Regions from separate parts of the Homo sapiens genome. Here all the other regions are linked to region 1. Evidence: promoter capture Hi-C in 16 types of primary human blood cells and fetal thymus (Javierre and others, 2016). All regions are on one chromosome and are shown on one strand. Each heading gives the region's core, a stretch centred on a gene start or on the middle of the fragment in contact. The rest is flanking DNA. Distances are from core to core; before and after follow the strand shown.

What was found. Contacts are between HindIII fragments. The CHiCAGO score rates a contact against its expected background, and 5 or more counts as called.
Region 2: a fragment that was not itself captured here is called in contact with the fragment with the promoter of UFL1-AS1 in region 1 in 3 of 17 cell types (non-activated CD4 T cells, total CD4 T cells and total B cells); the score reaches 7.7 in non-activated CD4 T cells.
Region 3: a fragment that was not itself captured here is called in contact with the fragment with the promoter of UFL1-AS1 in region 1 in 3 of 17 cell types (fetal thymus, non-activated CD4 T cells and activated CD4 T cells); the score reaches 7.0 in fetal thymus.
Region 4: a fragment that was not itself captured here is called in contact with the fragment with the promoter of UFL1-AS1 in region 1 in 4 of 17 cell types (fetal thymus, naive CD4 T cells, activated CD4 T cells and 1 more); the score reaches 7.3 in fetal thymus.

What each region holds. Positions count from the first base shown.
Region 1 is chr6:96,520,429-96,523,128 of GRCh38, reverse strand. It overlaps UFL1-AS1 (UFL1 antisense RNA 1), which reads left to right and starts at 1,415. Exons shown (of 4, transcript XR_007059687.1): 1 at 1,415-2,700. It overlaps UFL1 (UFM1 specific ligase 1), which reads right to left and starts at 1,323. Exons shown (of 19, transcript NM_015323.5): 1 at 1,179-1,323. The coding sequence starts at 1,255. RefSeq lists enhancers at 1-862, 1,529-1,718, 863-1,734, 1,735-2,606, 2,607-2,700. The HindIII fragment of the contact is 5,811 bases long and covers 1-2,700 here.
Region 2 is chr6:96,941,488-96,944,276 of GRCh38, reverse strand. The region is part of intron 1 of KLHL32 (kelch like family member 32); the gene reads right to left. Among named protein-coding and RNA genes, the nearest start is that of KLHL32, 18 kb to the right of the region's middle. The HindIII fragment of the contact is 6,637 bases long and covers 1-2,789 here.
Region 3 is chr6:96,833,008-96,835,732 of GRCh38, reverse strand. All of the region lies in intron 1 of GPR63 (G protein-coupled receptor 63), which reads left to right. Among named protein-coding and RNA genes, the nearest start is that of GPR63, 3.1 kb to the left of the region's middle. The HindIII fragment of the contact is 1,340 bases long and covers 691-2,030 here.
Region 4 is chr6:96,876,190-96,878,889 of GRCh38, reverse strand. No RefSeq gene overlaps it. Among named protein-coding and RNA genes, the nearest start is that of NDUFAF4, 20 kb to the left of the region's middle. The HindIII fragment of the contact is 174 bases long and covers 1,273-1,446 here.

The DNA of each region.
Region 1 (2,700 bases), core at 166-2,665:
AGTTGTTTCAAAAGTCCACTTGAGACATTGGCGCTCAATAAAATTAATACAATGTATGAAAACAGGCTTTTAAAAAGTTTGTTTAGTCACTAACTTCTACATCACAATATCTGTATTTTTCACTAACTGATTCAATAAGTTAAAAAAAAACCTTTCAGAGTAAGTAGGTTTACATATGCTTAAATCATTTATTTAATTGGTACACATCATCCCATCACAAATTTCAAGTCTGTTGTCTCTTACAGGCCTGCTTCCAATCTTCAAATCTGAAGGGAAAATTGAAGACATTTATTTAGGTAGGAAAAAAGAAAAAACAAAACAAAACAAAACAAAAAATGCCCTAATTTCCAGTTTAATCAGAATTTTCTTTTAAATTAAGTGCATAATTGCCTCACTTACACACATGGTCTGCAAGCAGGCAGGGGATGTGGCCTAGTGAAACCATAACTTTTACCCACGTTAGTTACCCATGCAGTTACGAGTTTGCTATCAGTGGTAGAAAATACAGCATAAGGGGATTGCTGTCTTCCGGCTCAAAAGGAATAAAACATCGCAGGTAGGAAGTAGTCAAAGAATAGAAAGGCTTCTATTAGCGTTATTTTTAAAAAGCAGAGTTAGGCTCCTCTGGACACATCCTCCAAAGGTTAGTGGGCTTGTAGAAAATGTCAGTGCCCTGAATAACAGATGGGGTCAGGGGTCTAGCCCTAGGTCTGTTACGAGAGATAAAAGGGCAAGAAGTTTTAAGGATCAACATACTATTTGCCAAGTACTGTACTGGGGGCGGGGGTTAGCCTCTCCTTTCGAGCTCATTCTAGATCAGGAAGTGTATAATAGCCAAGATGTCACAGTGATTTGGTGGTTGGTGGGTGAGGGAGGGTCAAAGAAATGCTCAATAAAGGCAGCTCGAAATCACCGGCCCCGTCCATGGTGGGGCGGGGCGCGCCAGCATTTCGCTGCAGCTGGGCTGGGGGGCTCCAGGGCGTCCTAGGCTGAGGACTTTCCCGCCGAGCCTTGGACTTGGAACTGCGATCCAGGCTCGGGACAGAGGGAGGAGGAGAGAATGGTGACAAGCAGCGAGAAGACCCGGGATGCAGGGCCGCGGGTCTAAAGTCCCAGATACAGGCGTGTCCGCCCACGGCCTAATTTGGGCTCCACAAAGGAGAGGGAGGGTCGGGCACCTCTGCGTGGCCTCGGCGAACTGCGCCCGCTGGAAGTCGGCCGCCAACCGCCTAATCTCTTCCCAGGCGTCCGCCATCACGGCCTGACTCGCAGTAGACGCGGAGGAACTGCAGACACGTCAGCCGACAGGCGGTGGGAGAAGAGAGGCGGAACGGGCCGCGCAGAGGGACAAGAGGCTCCGCCCCCGACGCAGACACACCAAACGCTTGCGCCCGAGGCGCGGGGGGCGGGCGGAAGTGCCGTGGTTGTACCGCGGCGCTGGGGGTTCCTCCCGGCGAGACTGGCGGGGCTGCGGCGGCTAGGAGAGTGGTGCGTAGGTGTTTCTGGGGGGGTCGTGGGCAGGATGCAGGGCTCAGTAAAGTTTAGTGTCAGAACTTTGTTTGCGCTACCCCTAATATTTCCGTAGAGTAATAGTTGTATTAACTACTTTTCTTTTTTCTTCTGTCCTCCATTTGTTTTGGGGGAGGGTGCGGAGGAATAAGCCTGTGTCTAAGATTGGCGCCTCTCTTCTCTAGCTGTTAACTCTGAGCATTCCCTTTTGTATAGGGTATCGTGTTAATTTTTACATGCACCCAGAGCAGTCTGCCTTTTGGAAGATACATGGGAGACCCTACCGAAAGTAATTACTTTTTTTTTACAGAGTGAATAAATTTGCGTGTCATAAAGGCTGTATAATTGCTTTCGTGTCTAGAGTTCTAGAGTCTTTCGTATTTCTCTTATTGCAATGATTAACTTCATCAAATAATGAGGAATATAAACATAAGGTGCATGGCTATCAAGGAAACAGGGAAAGCAAAGAGAACATGTATCCTGCTTCCCTGTTGAGTAGATATTTACTCAGGTGTACCTTTCTTTTTTATATCTTTTTTATATCTTATGAATTGAAAATAAATCATGGGACCCCCAAATCACTAAGCTAAAGGGAAAAGTCATACTGGGAACTGCTTAGGGAATCCTGCCTCCCATTCTATTCAAAGTCACCCCTCTGCTCACTGAGATAAATGCATGTCTGATTGCCTCATTTGGAGAGGCTCATAAGAGAATGCAACTGTCTGTTATCTACCTATGACTTGGAACTTCCTCCCCACTTGGAGTTGCCCCGCTTTTCCAGATCAGACCAATGTTTATCTTACATATATTGATTGCTGCCCCATGTCTCCCTAAAATGTGTAAAACCAAGCTGTGCCCCAGCCACCTTGGGCGCATGTTGTCAGGATCTGTGCCATGTCATGGATGCAAGTTCTTAACTTTGGCTAAATAAACTTTCTGAGTTGATTGTGACCTGTCTCAGATATTTGGAGTTCATGTATCTCACTCTTTACTATTTAAAAAATATTATTCCAGTTAGAAAGAATGAATAATATCAAGTATTTGATAGCACAGCAGGGTGACTAGTTGTCAGAGGCGTTTGAACTAGAGCAACTCCATCTTGAATAGGGGCTGGGTAAAATAAGGCTGAAACCTACTGGGCTGCATTCCCAGGAGGTTAGTCACAGAGTGAGATAGAAGGTCCACAGGCAG
Region 2 (2,789 bases), core at 208-2,707, 420 kb before region 1:
CTTTTAGATAGTGCCTTTTATTCTGATACCTTGAATTCATGCATGCCTCATAGGTAACATTTTAAATTATTTAAACACCAGTTAATATTACTGGTGTCAGCATGATCAGTAATTACCGTCTTAATAATCACAGGCATCTAATTCCAGTTGCTCCCATCTTTGATATAACGATGAGCAACAGCCTGGAGGACAAGAACTGACAGGGAACGAATACAGCTGGGGGTCAAATTAATGCTGGTGGTGAACTAGCTTTCAGTGAGAGGCACATGCTGAAAAATGAGACCACAGGTTGAGAAGGAATTAATGTCCTGAGAGTTTTGTACAAAATAAAATATTTTCTGAACATGAGAACAGCTTTTGAATCTAGATCTGAAGAAGCTGGCTAAATAAATCATACCTCCAACAACCTTCTTTTCAGTAATTATAAAAAGAATGCATCTGCACACTCGTTCCCCTGCCAGATATGACTTTTCCCTTCCCCAGATGGCTGGGGCAAGTGTCTGTGCATATGGCAAAAGAAAAAAGCAGGAAGCTCGAAGTGTTTAACTGGAAAAGGAAGCAGTGAAGGCTTATGAAATGTGTTTGTGCGAGGCACTACAGGGGCCGCAAAGCCAAAGAAGAGCAACCAGTAAAGACAAGACCTCGGAGACCTGGGTCCTGGTCCCGGCTCTGCTACTAAGGGTTTCACTGGCCAAGCCAGTTTGTTTCCCTGGGCTTCTGCTTTCTCATACAAAATGTGGAGGAATCCAATTAAATCAGTTTGTGGGATTTACAGCTGATGTGAAGTTATCCAACATTGGGGGTCAGCAGTAATAAGTAAAACAGGTGTCAGCCTGTGTGTGGGTGAGAAATCTCCTTGGTAGAACAGTATAAGGTTTTTTTTTTTTTTTTACTTCTTCTTGGAAATAGAAGTAAATATCATATTACCGCACAGGTCTTGTGTGAATGACACCAAGAGACCAACCCTTTAAGAGCTGGTTCTAGAGGAATATGAACTCTGCATTTACCATAAGCCAAATCCATTTTGAGGAAAAGAATAATGGCCCTATCACAGTCCTTTACCCCAGGATAGGTGGTTAGAATGTATGTGTGTATGTATAGGCATGTGTGTGTATGTATGTGTATATATGTGTGTGCATATGTGTCTATATGCTGGTATGTGTATATGTGTATATGTATGTGCATATATGTGTGTGTATGTACAGAGTGTGTGTGTGTGTGTGTGTGTGTGTGTGTGTGTAGAGGGAGCATGAACAATACATCTCATTTCTCTTTTCTCTTTTAGCCTACAGTCCCTCCTCTAAATCTCTAGCCCTGAATGCTTAATTTAATTTTTAACTGTGGCATGTGGGCAAGAGAGAGGTGAACAGGTTGCTACACATTACTCAGGCTTGATCGAAAGCCATTCTGCCGTAAGGAGTGATTCTCTGCAGAATGAGGACAATAAAAAACTAGAGATGGAGGTAGAAAGGGAGGTGGTGGCATCAGAATAACCTGGGGAAAGTCTTTTTCAATCTCTCTATGCTTTCTCCCCTCTCTCTTCTTCCTTGAGAATCAAATATGACCCTGAAGGGATATTCTGAATCACACACACACACACACACACACACACACACACACACCCCACAGCTGTAGCAAGTCACTGTTACTGATTTCCTGAAGTGGGATAAAAGATTGAGGATTTCAATGCTAATGTCCTTTCCAGCCTTAACACTTCAAGACATAGCTTCTATCATTCATATACTTTCAAATTAAGAAAACACACATAAGATAACCAGAGAACAACAAAAGGCAACTCTCCACAGCTAAATGGCAGATTAGATGAAGATGTCTAGAACAAGGGAAATTATTGCATGGTAGAGCTAATCAGGAATGGTTTCATGGAGGAAATGGGTATTGAGCACAGATGGCTTGATGCACAGATTTTGGACTGAGATTGAGGTGAAGAAGCATGTTGGGCATCTGGCAGGTGCGAGGTGGCAGCAGTAGCTGGAAAGGATGGTGAGGGGGACAGCAGTAGTACAGGGGCAGCACCAGTCTGGACTGACCCAGACAAGTGGGGCCAGCAGATCTTGGGCTGCAAAAGGCAGTGAAGCCTAAGCTAACAAACAGTGACTGTGGGGTAACCGCTGGCTGTAAAGCAGGAGAATGTTAGAGCAACACATGTGCTTCAGGGAACTCTTTCAGATCATGGCCCAAGATAGTTAAGAACAGAGGTTTCTAAAGGGGTTCCATAAACAGACCTTACCTAAGTTACTATATATACAGTACATATGCCAGTCTTTTTCTGCATTCTTTCTCTGAGACCATATTCATACATGCATTTTGCATAGGAATAAGGATCTGGACCATTTATTTGATTCTCAAAAAGTTATGGGACAACCACTTCCTGCACCTGACCCCTCATCCCAATTACACACAACAGAGAAAAAGTAAGAGGTCAGAGGAAAGTGTTCCAAATTGTTCTTGGGGGTCTTCTCATTGCTTAGATGGAAGAGATCAGTAAAGGACAAATCAGAGAAAAAAGGCAGCTATGTGACACCAACCCAGGTGATCCTTGTGCAGCAGGGAACCCCACAGAGGCTCCTGAGAGGATACTTTCTCAGGCTCACTTATTCAAGAGATAGCATAAGAGGGGCTTTCGTGGATTACGTGAAGTTGACTACAACATCTAGTCTTACCTTGATTGTTTTTTGGTCATCACATCATATCAAACCTCTTCTGCTTAATAATATCAATGCTTCTCAGAGCTATCATTTCATTTGACTAAAATGTAAGTCACTCAGAAA
Region 3 (2,725 bases), core at 111-2,610, 310 kb before region 1:
AAAGTATACCAGTACCGAAACTCAAAAAAAGAACCCACCATCTCAAGCATTTTCTGAAAATTTCAGCAAGCTGAACATTCTTGGAGAAAAATTTGCTTAGGAAAAATAAACATAACTAAAACCCCTATGTAGTTACTGTTTTACCTTAAGTTTGCTGGACTGCAAGCAAGAAAGTAAGAATTTAGTGTTCCTAAGTGGATGTGACTTAGTTCCTAGAGTTACTTGAGCACCTTGAGATTTTGTTTATGGTTTATTTAATTTGGGTTGATTGTTTTGTGAATGAGTATTTTGGAAATGATACACACAGAGGTGGATTTGTATATGTATATATCCATATCACACATATATCTATATTTATGTATCCATACTATATATAGTATAACTATATATACCATATCTGTATATGCTATTGAGTATATAAAAAACATGAAAACCATTTAGGGACCTAATAATACATGTGCACCAGGAACAGTAGGTCTAAAATATCAGCTAAAAATAGTTATTGCTAGGGCTTGTCATCTTTTCAGCATTTTAGTCAATATCAGTTAAGTTAAAAAGCACTGGTTTTCAGTATGTTCTCGAACTCTTAACAAGGCTTGGATCAGGGAACCATATCCTAACCACATTTATCTATTCAAATGGATTGAATTACCCTGCCAATGGATAATTGAACCAGGCATTTCTTAAGCTTCAATAGGCAAATTCTAGGTAAAATTTAGTTTGTCAATATAGTGTTTTCTTCTTTTAATACTTCAAAAATAACCTTTAGGACATTCTTCATAGATCTGGGATTTAGAGAGTAGACCTCAAAGGCATGAGAGGCAAACCTTGGGGAAGTTCTGGTACTCCAATTTGTGAAATGATGTCTTAAGCACTTGATTTGAGAGAGGGACCCATTAATGCTTGGAAAAACAATATGTATAAATACAGTGCTCCAGTTACTACAAGCAAAACTATTTCATTCACCTTTGTTATGTTTGTTACCACATTTCACAGCTGAAGCTGCTATATTTCAGCTTATGTATGAAAATTAGAAATGAAATGAAGTAATCTGTTAGGCGGTTTTTTTTTCTTTAATTTGCTAGCTGTTTACCAGAAATGTGTTTATATTTGCTGCAAATCACCTTTACTTTGTTGCAGGTGGCACTTTTTCCTTTTTTTTTTTGCAACTATGACATATGTATATTTAGGATGAGTTCTTAGTGTTTCCTTGAAGACACATGAATGAGTTTCACAGAGTTTATGTTGCATTTCTTCAACTTTCAAAACACAACATTTGAGATGTTTGACTACCAGCCTGAGATCATAGATCTTAAGAGCTGATGTGATCCTGGTCAGTTATAGTTTCAATTTCCGGGGAATTTTCTGTTTAAGGTTAGATGTGCCCTCAATTTGAACTAGATGATCCACAAAATTGGTACTTTTGCAACCACAAAACATGAGAACATTCCAAATGATTTGAAGTGTGGGCAGCCCAACATGCTTTAGGATTTGGTTGGCTTGAGGCGGTATGCCATGCTTGTAAAAATGGTTTCTGAAGCTGACAGCAAGCTGTTTCAGGCTTTAAGTTTGACACATAGGATAAAATGCATTCTAGCCTCTGCACCAGTAAATATGGACAAGATTTGTATCCACTTCTGTTTGTATGACAGAAGATTCAGAAAACTCAAGCGTGAAACTCTAGCTTAATACACAGGAAAGCTCATTCATGTTCATTATAAACATAATGAAGAGTTAGAAAAGTTGGATTTTAACACAGCTCTCGGGTCTTGGGGAATAGATGGTATATTTGCAGGTATGGGGGCAATCTAGTGGTCACCTATTGAAATTAATAATAGGGTTATTATTATCAGCATTTCCTTTGAGTGATATGCTAAAGAATTACATCTTCCCAGATACAATTTAGAAAAACCCCCAGCCAGATACTGTACCAATCACCTGGCATATATATTAATTGATTCTTAGATCATTTTCAAATTCTTAACATCATTTTCAATTTAAACCTTTATGTGTTATTATAGTTATAAGCTTTACATACCTTTTAGGGTTTTTGAGCAAAGCTTCTTGGTTAACTTCTTTCTCTCAATTGACTTAGCTCAGTCTATGTTATTAAAGCATTTGAAAAATATTTTAGGCAAATTCTTTTCTGTGGAAACTTCTAAGGATCTTCCTTGGGGAGGCTGGTGCAGAAGGGACATGATTCTGTATTCTAGCTGTTACCTTTCTCCTAAAATGAGGCATCTTTACATCTTCCTACTTTATACAATATAAAACAAAACAAAAACAAATGCGTAGGTAACTTTAGAGAGAGAACATTTGTAGGCATTTAAAGAAGCCTGAAGTTTAGATCAGAGTAAGAGTTTCAACTGAAAATTATTTGAGAATCAATTAAATCTATCCCATGTATTTGGTATGGTATTTGGTTGAGGCTGTCTGGTGCAGGATTTTTTGTTCAAGTTGATCCTGGGAGGATGTGGATACAAAGGGAGTTGGGGTGTAGGCATAACATCCATTGTCTTCAAGAGGGAAAAATGTTCAGGTAAGTGGGCTTTTGTAGTAAGATCCATTCTTTTCATCATTGTAACTTACTCCATTTCCCCTGTATTTGAAGCACACAGTCTTCCTACTCCATTTTGATTAACCCTGCATAAACCACGATACCTTCTAAAGTTTCACACTGTCTATCACTAGCAGAAAGTCTGTTCTCTCAGCTTGTTCCTACTCA
Region 4 (2,700 bases), core at 110-2,609, 360 kb before region 1:
GATTTACTTTCACTGATATGTCAGAGAGGATGGAGAAAGGAGATTAAGCTATTTTCCTCCTCCAGGACTCAAACTCCTCTCTTTCCCAGCAATCTAATTTTCCTTTTTCAAAATTCCAACTTCGTGTTTATTTTTTTCAATGTAGTATACAATTTAGCCGATCATTTATCCTTCCTCATTCATCATGTTGTATACTTAGCTTAATAAACATCTTATTCTCAGAAGGATTCCAGAAGAAACTGAAGTCACAGAGGCTCATTTCCTTGCTTTACCTCAGAACAACACAGTAATATTACCTAGATATTTCTATTTTTACCCTATAATGAGGACACTCAATCTAAAATTGCACACAGCCCTGAGCTGCTACATTTTTGGTTCACTTTAACCTGAATAAGGGCTTCAGAGTTTGCTGAAATCAGATTCATGCCATGCTTGTTTCAAGGCAGTACATGGCTTGTTACTCTCAGAATTCAATGTTTATTTCTCATTGTAATGAAAAAGGCCCTCTGGCTGTCTAACCAGCTGTAATTTCTCACTAATCCTGAATAAACATTTCAAACCATAATGAGTCAGTGTTGAATTTTATGAAGAAAATGGAATTAAGAGTCAGAGTAATTTATAGCTGTACTGGCCACCCATTAAAGTTTTTCAACAAATGTGGGTGAAGCAAAAAGATGTAAGGCAAAAAGATGACTGTGGTTTTAAAAAATGTGGAATAACAGCTGAAAAAGATTGATGTTACCCTACTAGACTCCTCTGTGAAAGAAACAGGCAAAACTTCTGTCCTTGCTGGTATGAGACCTCCTACTCCACGGTAAGAAAACCTGCCATAAAGATGAGGTTGGATCCCCCAAAGTGGGCCTACATTTTAACCTAGGAGCTGACCCCGCAGGATCCACCACGGCCCACACCCTCCAACCCTCGAAGATGATGGGTTTTAGCCTGGAAGGAGAGCAACCCACAGAAGGTGATCCCTGTATCAAAGAGGCCTGGGCCCACATGCTCTCTAACCTGCACTTCCTTTGAGACACAGATAATGGTACCTTGGTGAGTGAAACCAGAGCATCAGTAAATTAAGAGCTCTCCTAGGTGTTTTGAAAGATCCTTCTCTGTATCCAATCTTTAATGCCCAGGCATTTGCTTGGGTATTGTCTTCCTGAGTCTCATGAAGTTCCCTTTTTACCCCGTGAAATAACAGGATACATTTTTAAAAAATAATTAAATGACCATTCAACATTTGAGCCAAAAGGAGTCAAATAAAAAACTTAAGCTTTTGAACTTTCCACACTTTCAAAGCTCTAGCCTTGGGACCAGAAAATGGCTTTCTTTGTTTGAAATTGTACATTTGGCTTATTAGTAGAATTTTGAGAAAGATCAGGGAGCCTCAGTATGCTCAATGATGGCACAGGAAGTTGGGCTTCCACAAGAAAGGGGAAAAGAGAAGCTTGAAAATTCAGTTAGTAAGCATGGGTTCTGAAGTGCATGAAGTTTTTGCAAAACCTGAATGCAAAAGCATTCAGCATTACTCCTTGGAGCGGGCACGGTGCCACACATCTTCTGAGTTGCCAGTTTCTCTGGAGCTTCCGTGCTCTCTTAGAGGAGAGAAAATTATGCTTAATTTTATATTCACTGGTTGGATTTCTTAAACCACTTTAAATATCAGAGCAGCATTCTTAACATAAACAGAAATGTTGTTCGGAACTGATTATTTAAATGAGTTTTTCACTTTCACAGGCTGGAACTCTTTCAGGAGATTTTGTTTCCAAAAGAACTTTAGAAAATACTAGCATAGATGTTTCATTAAACTAAGATGTGATAAAGGCCGGAATCCTTCTAAAATTACCGATTATAAATCTTCAGAAAAACGGATGGCTTATACATATCGAATCTGTGCTTGAAAACATCATATTGCCAGAAGGCTGCGACTCAAATTCAGAGTAGAAAAAGAGATGCAAAATGTCTATCAGGAATGTTTAAAAATAATCAGGCTTTTTGGCAGAAAAGTAAAACTGGTCACTGAATTTTGGCTTCTCTAGTATACAACAATACCAACCTTAGATGCTGAAAAAAGACTCTTACAGAATGAATGGTTCCTAGCTAAAGAGAAATTCGATTGTTTTAAAATATACTGACATTTACATAATCTGTTTTGCTTAAAATGGCAGTGCCTTGTTTTAAAATAATGATGTTAGGCTCTTGAAAATGATTTGAATCTTGTATCTGAGGACACTATGATCATAAAATCTGACTCAATGAGGGAAGAAACATGTATCCTCATAGGCCCTACAGAGGAAAGCACCAGACTGACTCAAGTTTTTGCCTTATTTTTTCTCTTAACATTTTATAATGCAAGGGCATGTGTTTCAGGACACTTTTCAGCATCCCACTCCATGTATCTCTTTTTGGAAATTACAGCTGCCCCAGGGAGTGCTATTGTGGGTACCCCTGGAGGGAAGAAGGATTTTATGCAGCGTAAAAAAAGGAAAAACTCTATGTATATGTTTTTGATCTTGGTGTTTCCCTCTTTGACAGTAGATTGGTCTTTTATATTTCTGTATTTCATTAATATAGAACACAGAGAAATTGATCAGTAAATGATATTTATTTATTTATTTGAGTTGGAGTCTTGCTGTGTCACCCAGGCTGGAGTGCAGTGGTGCCATCTCAACTCACTGCAACCTCCGCCTCCTGGATTCAAGC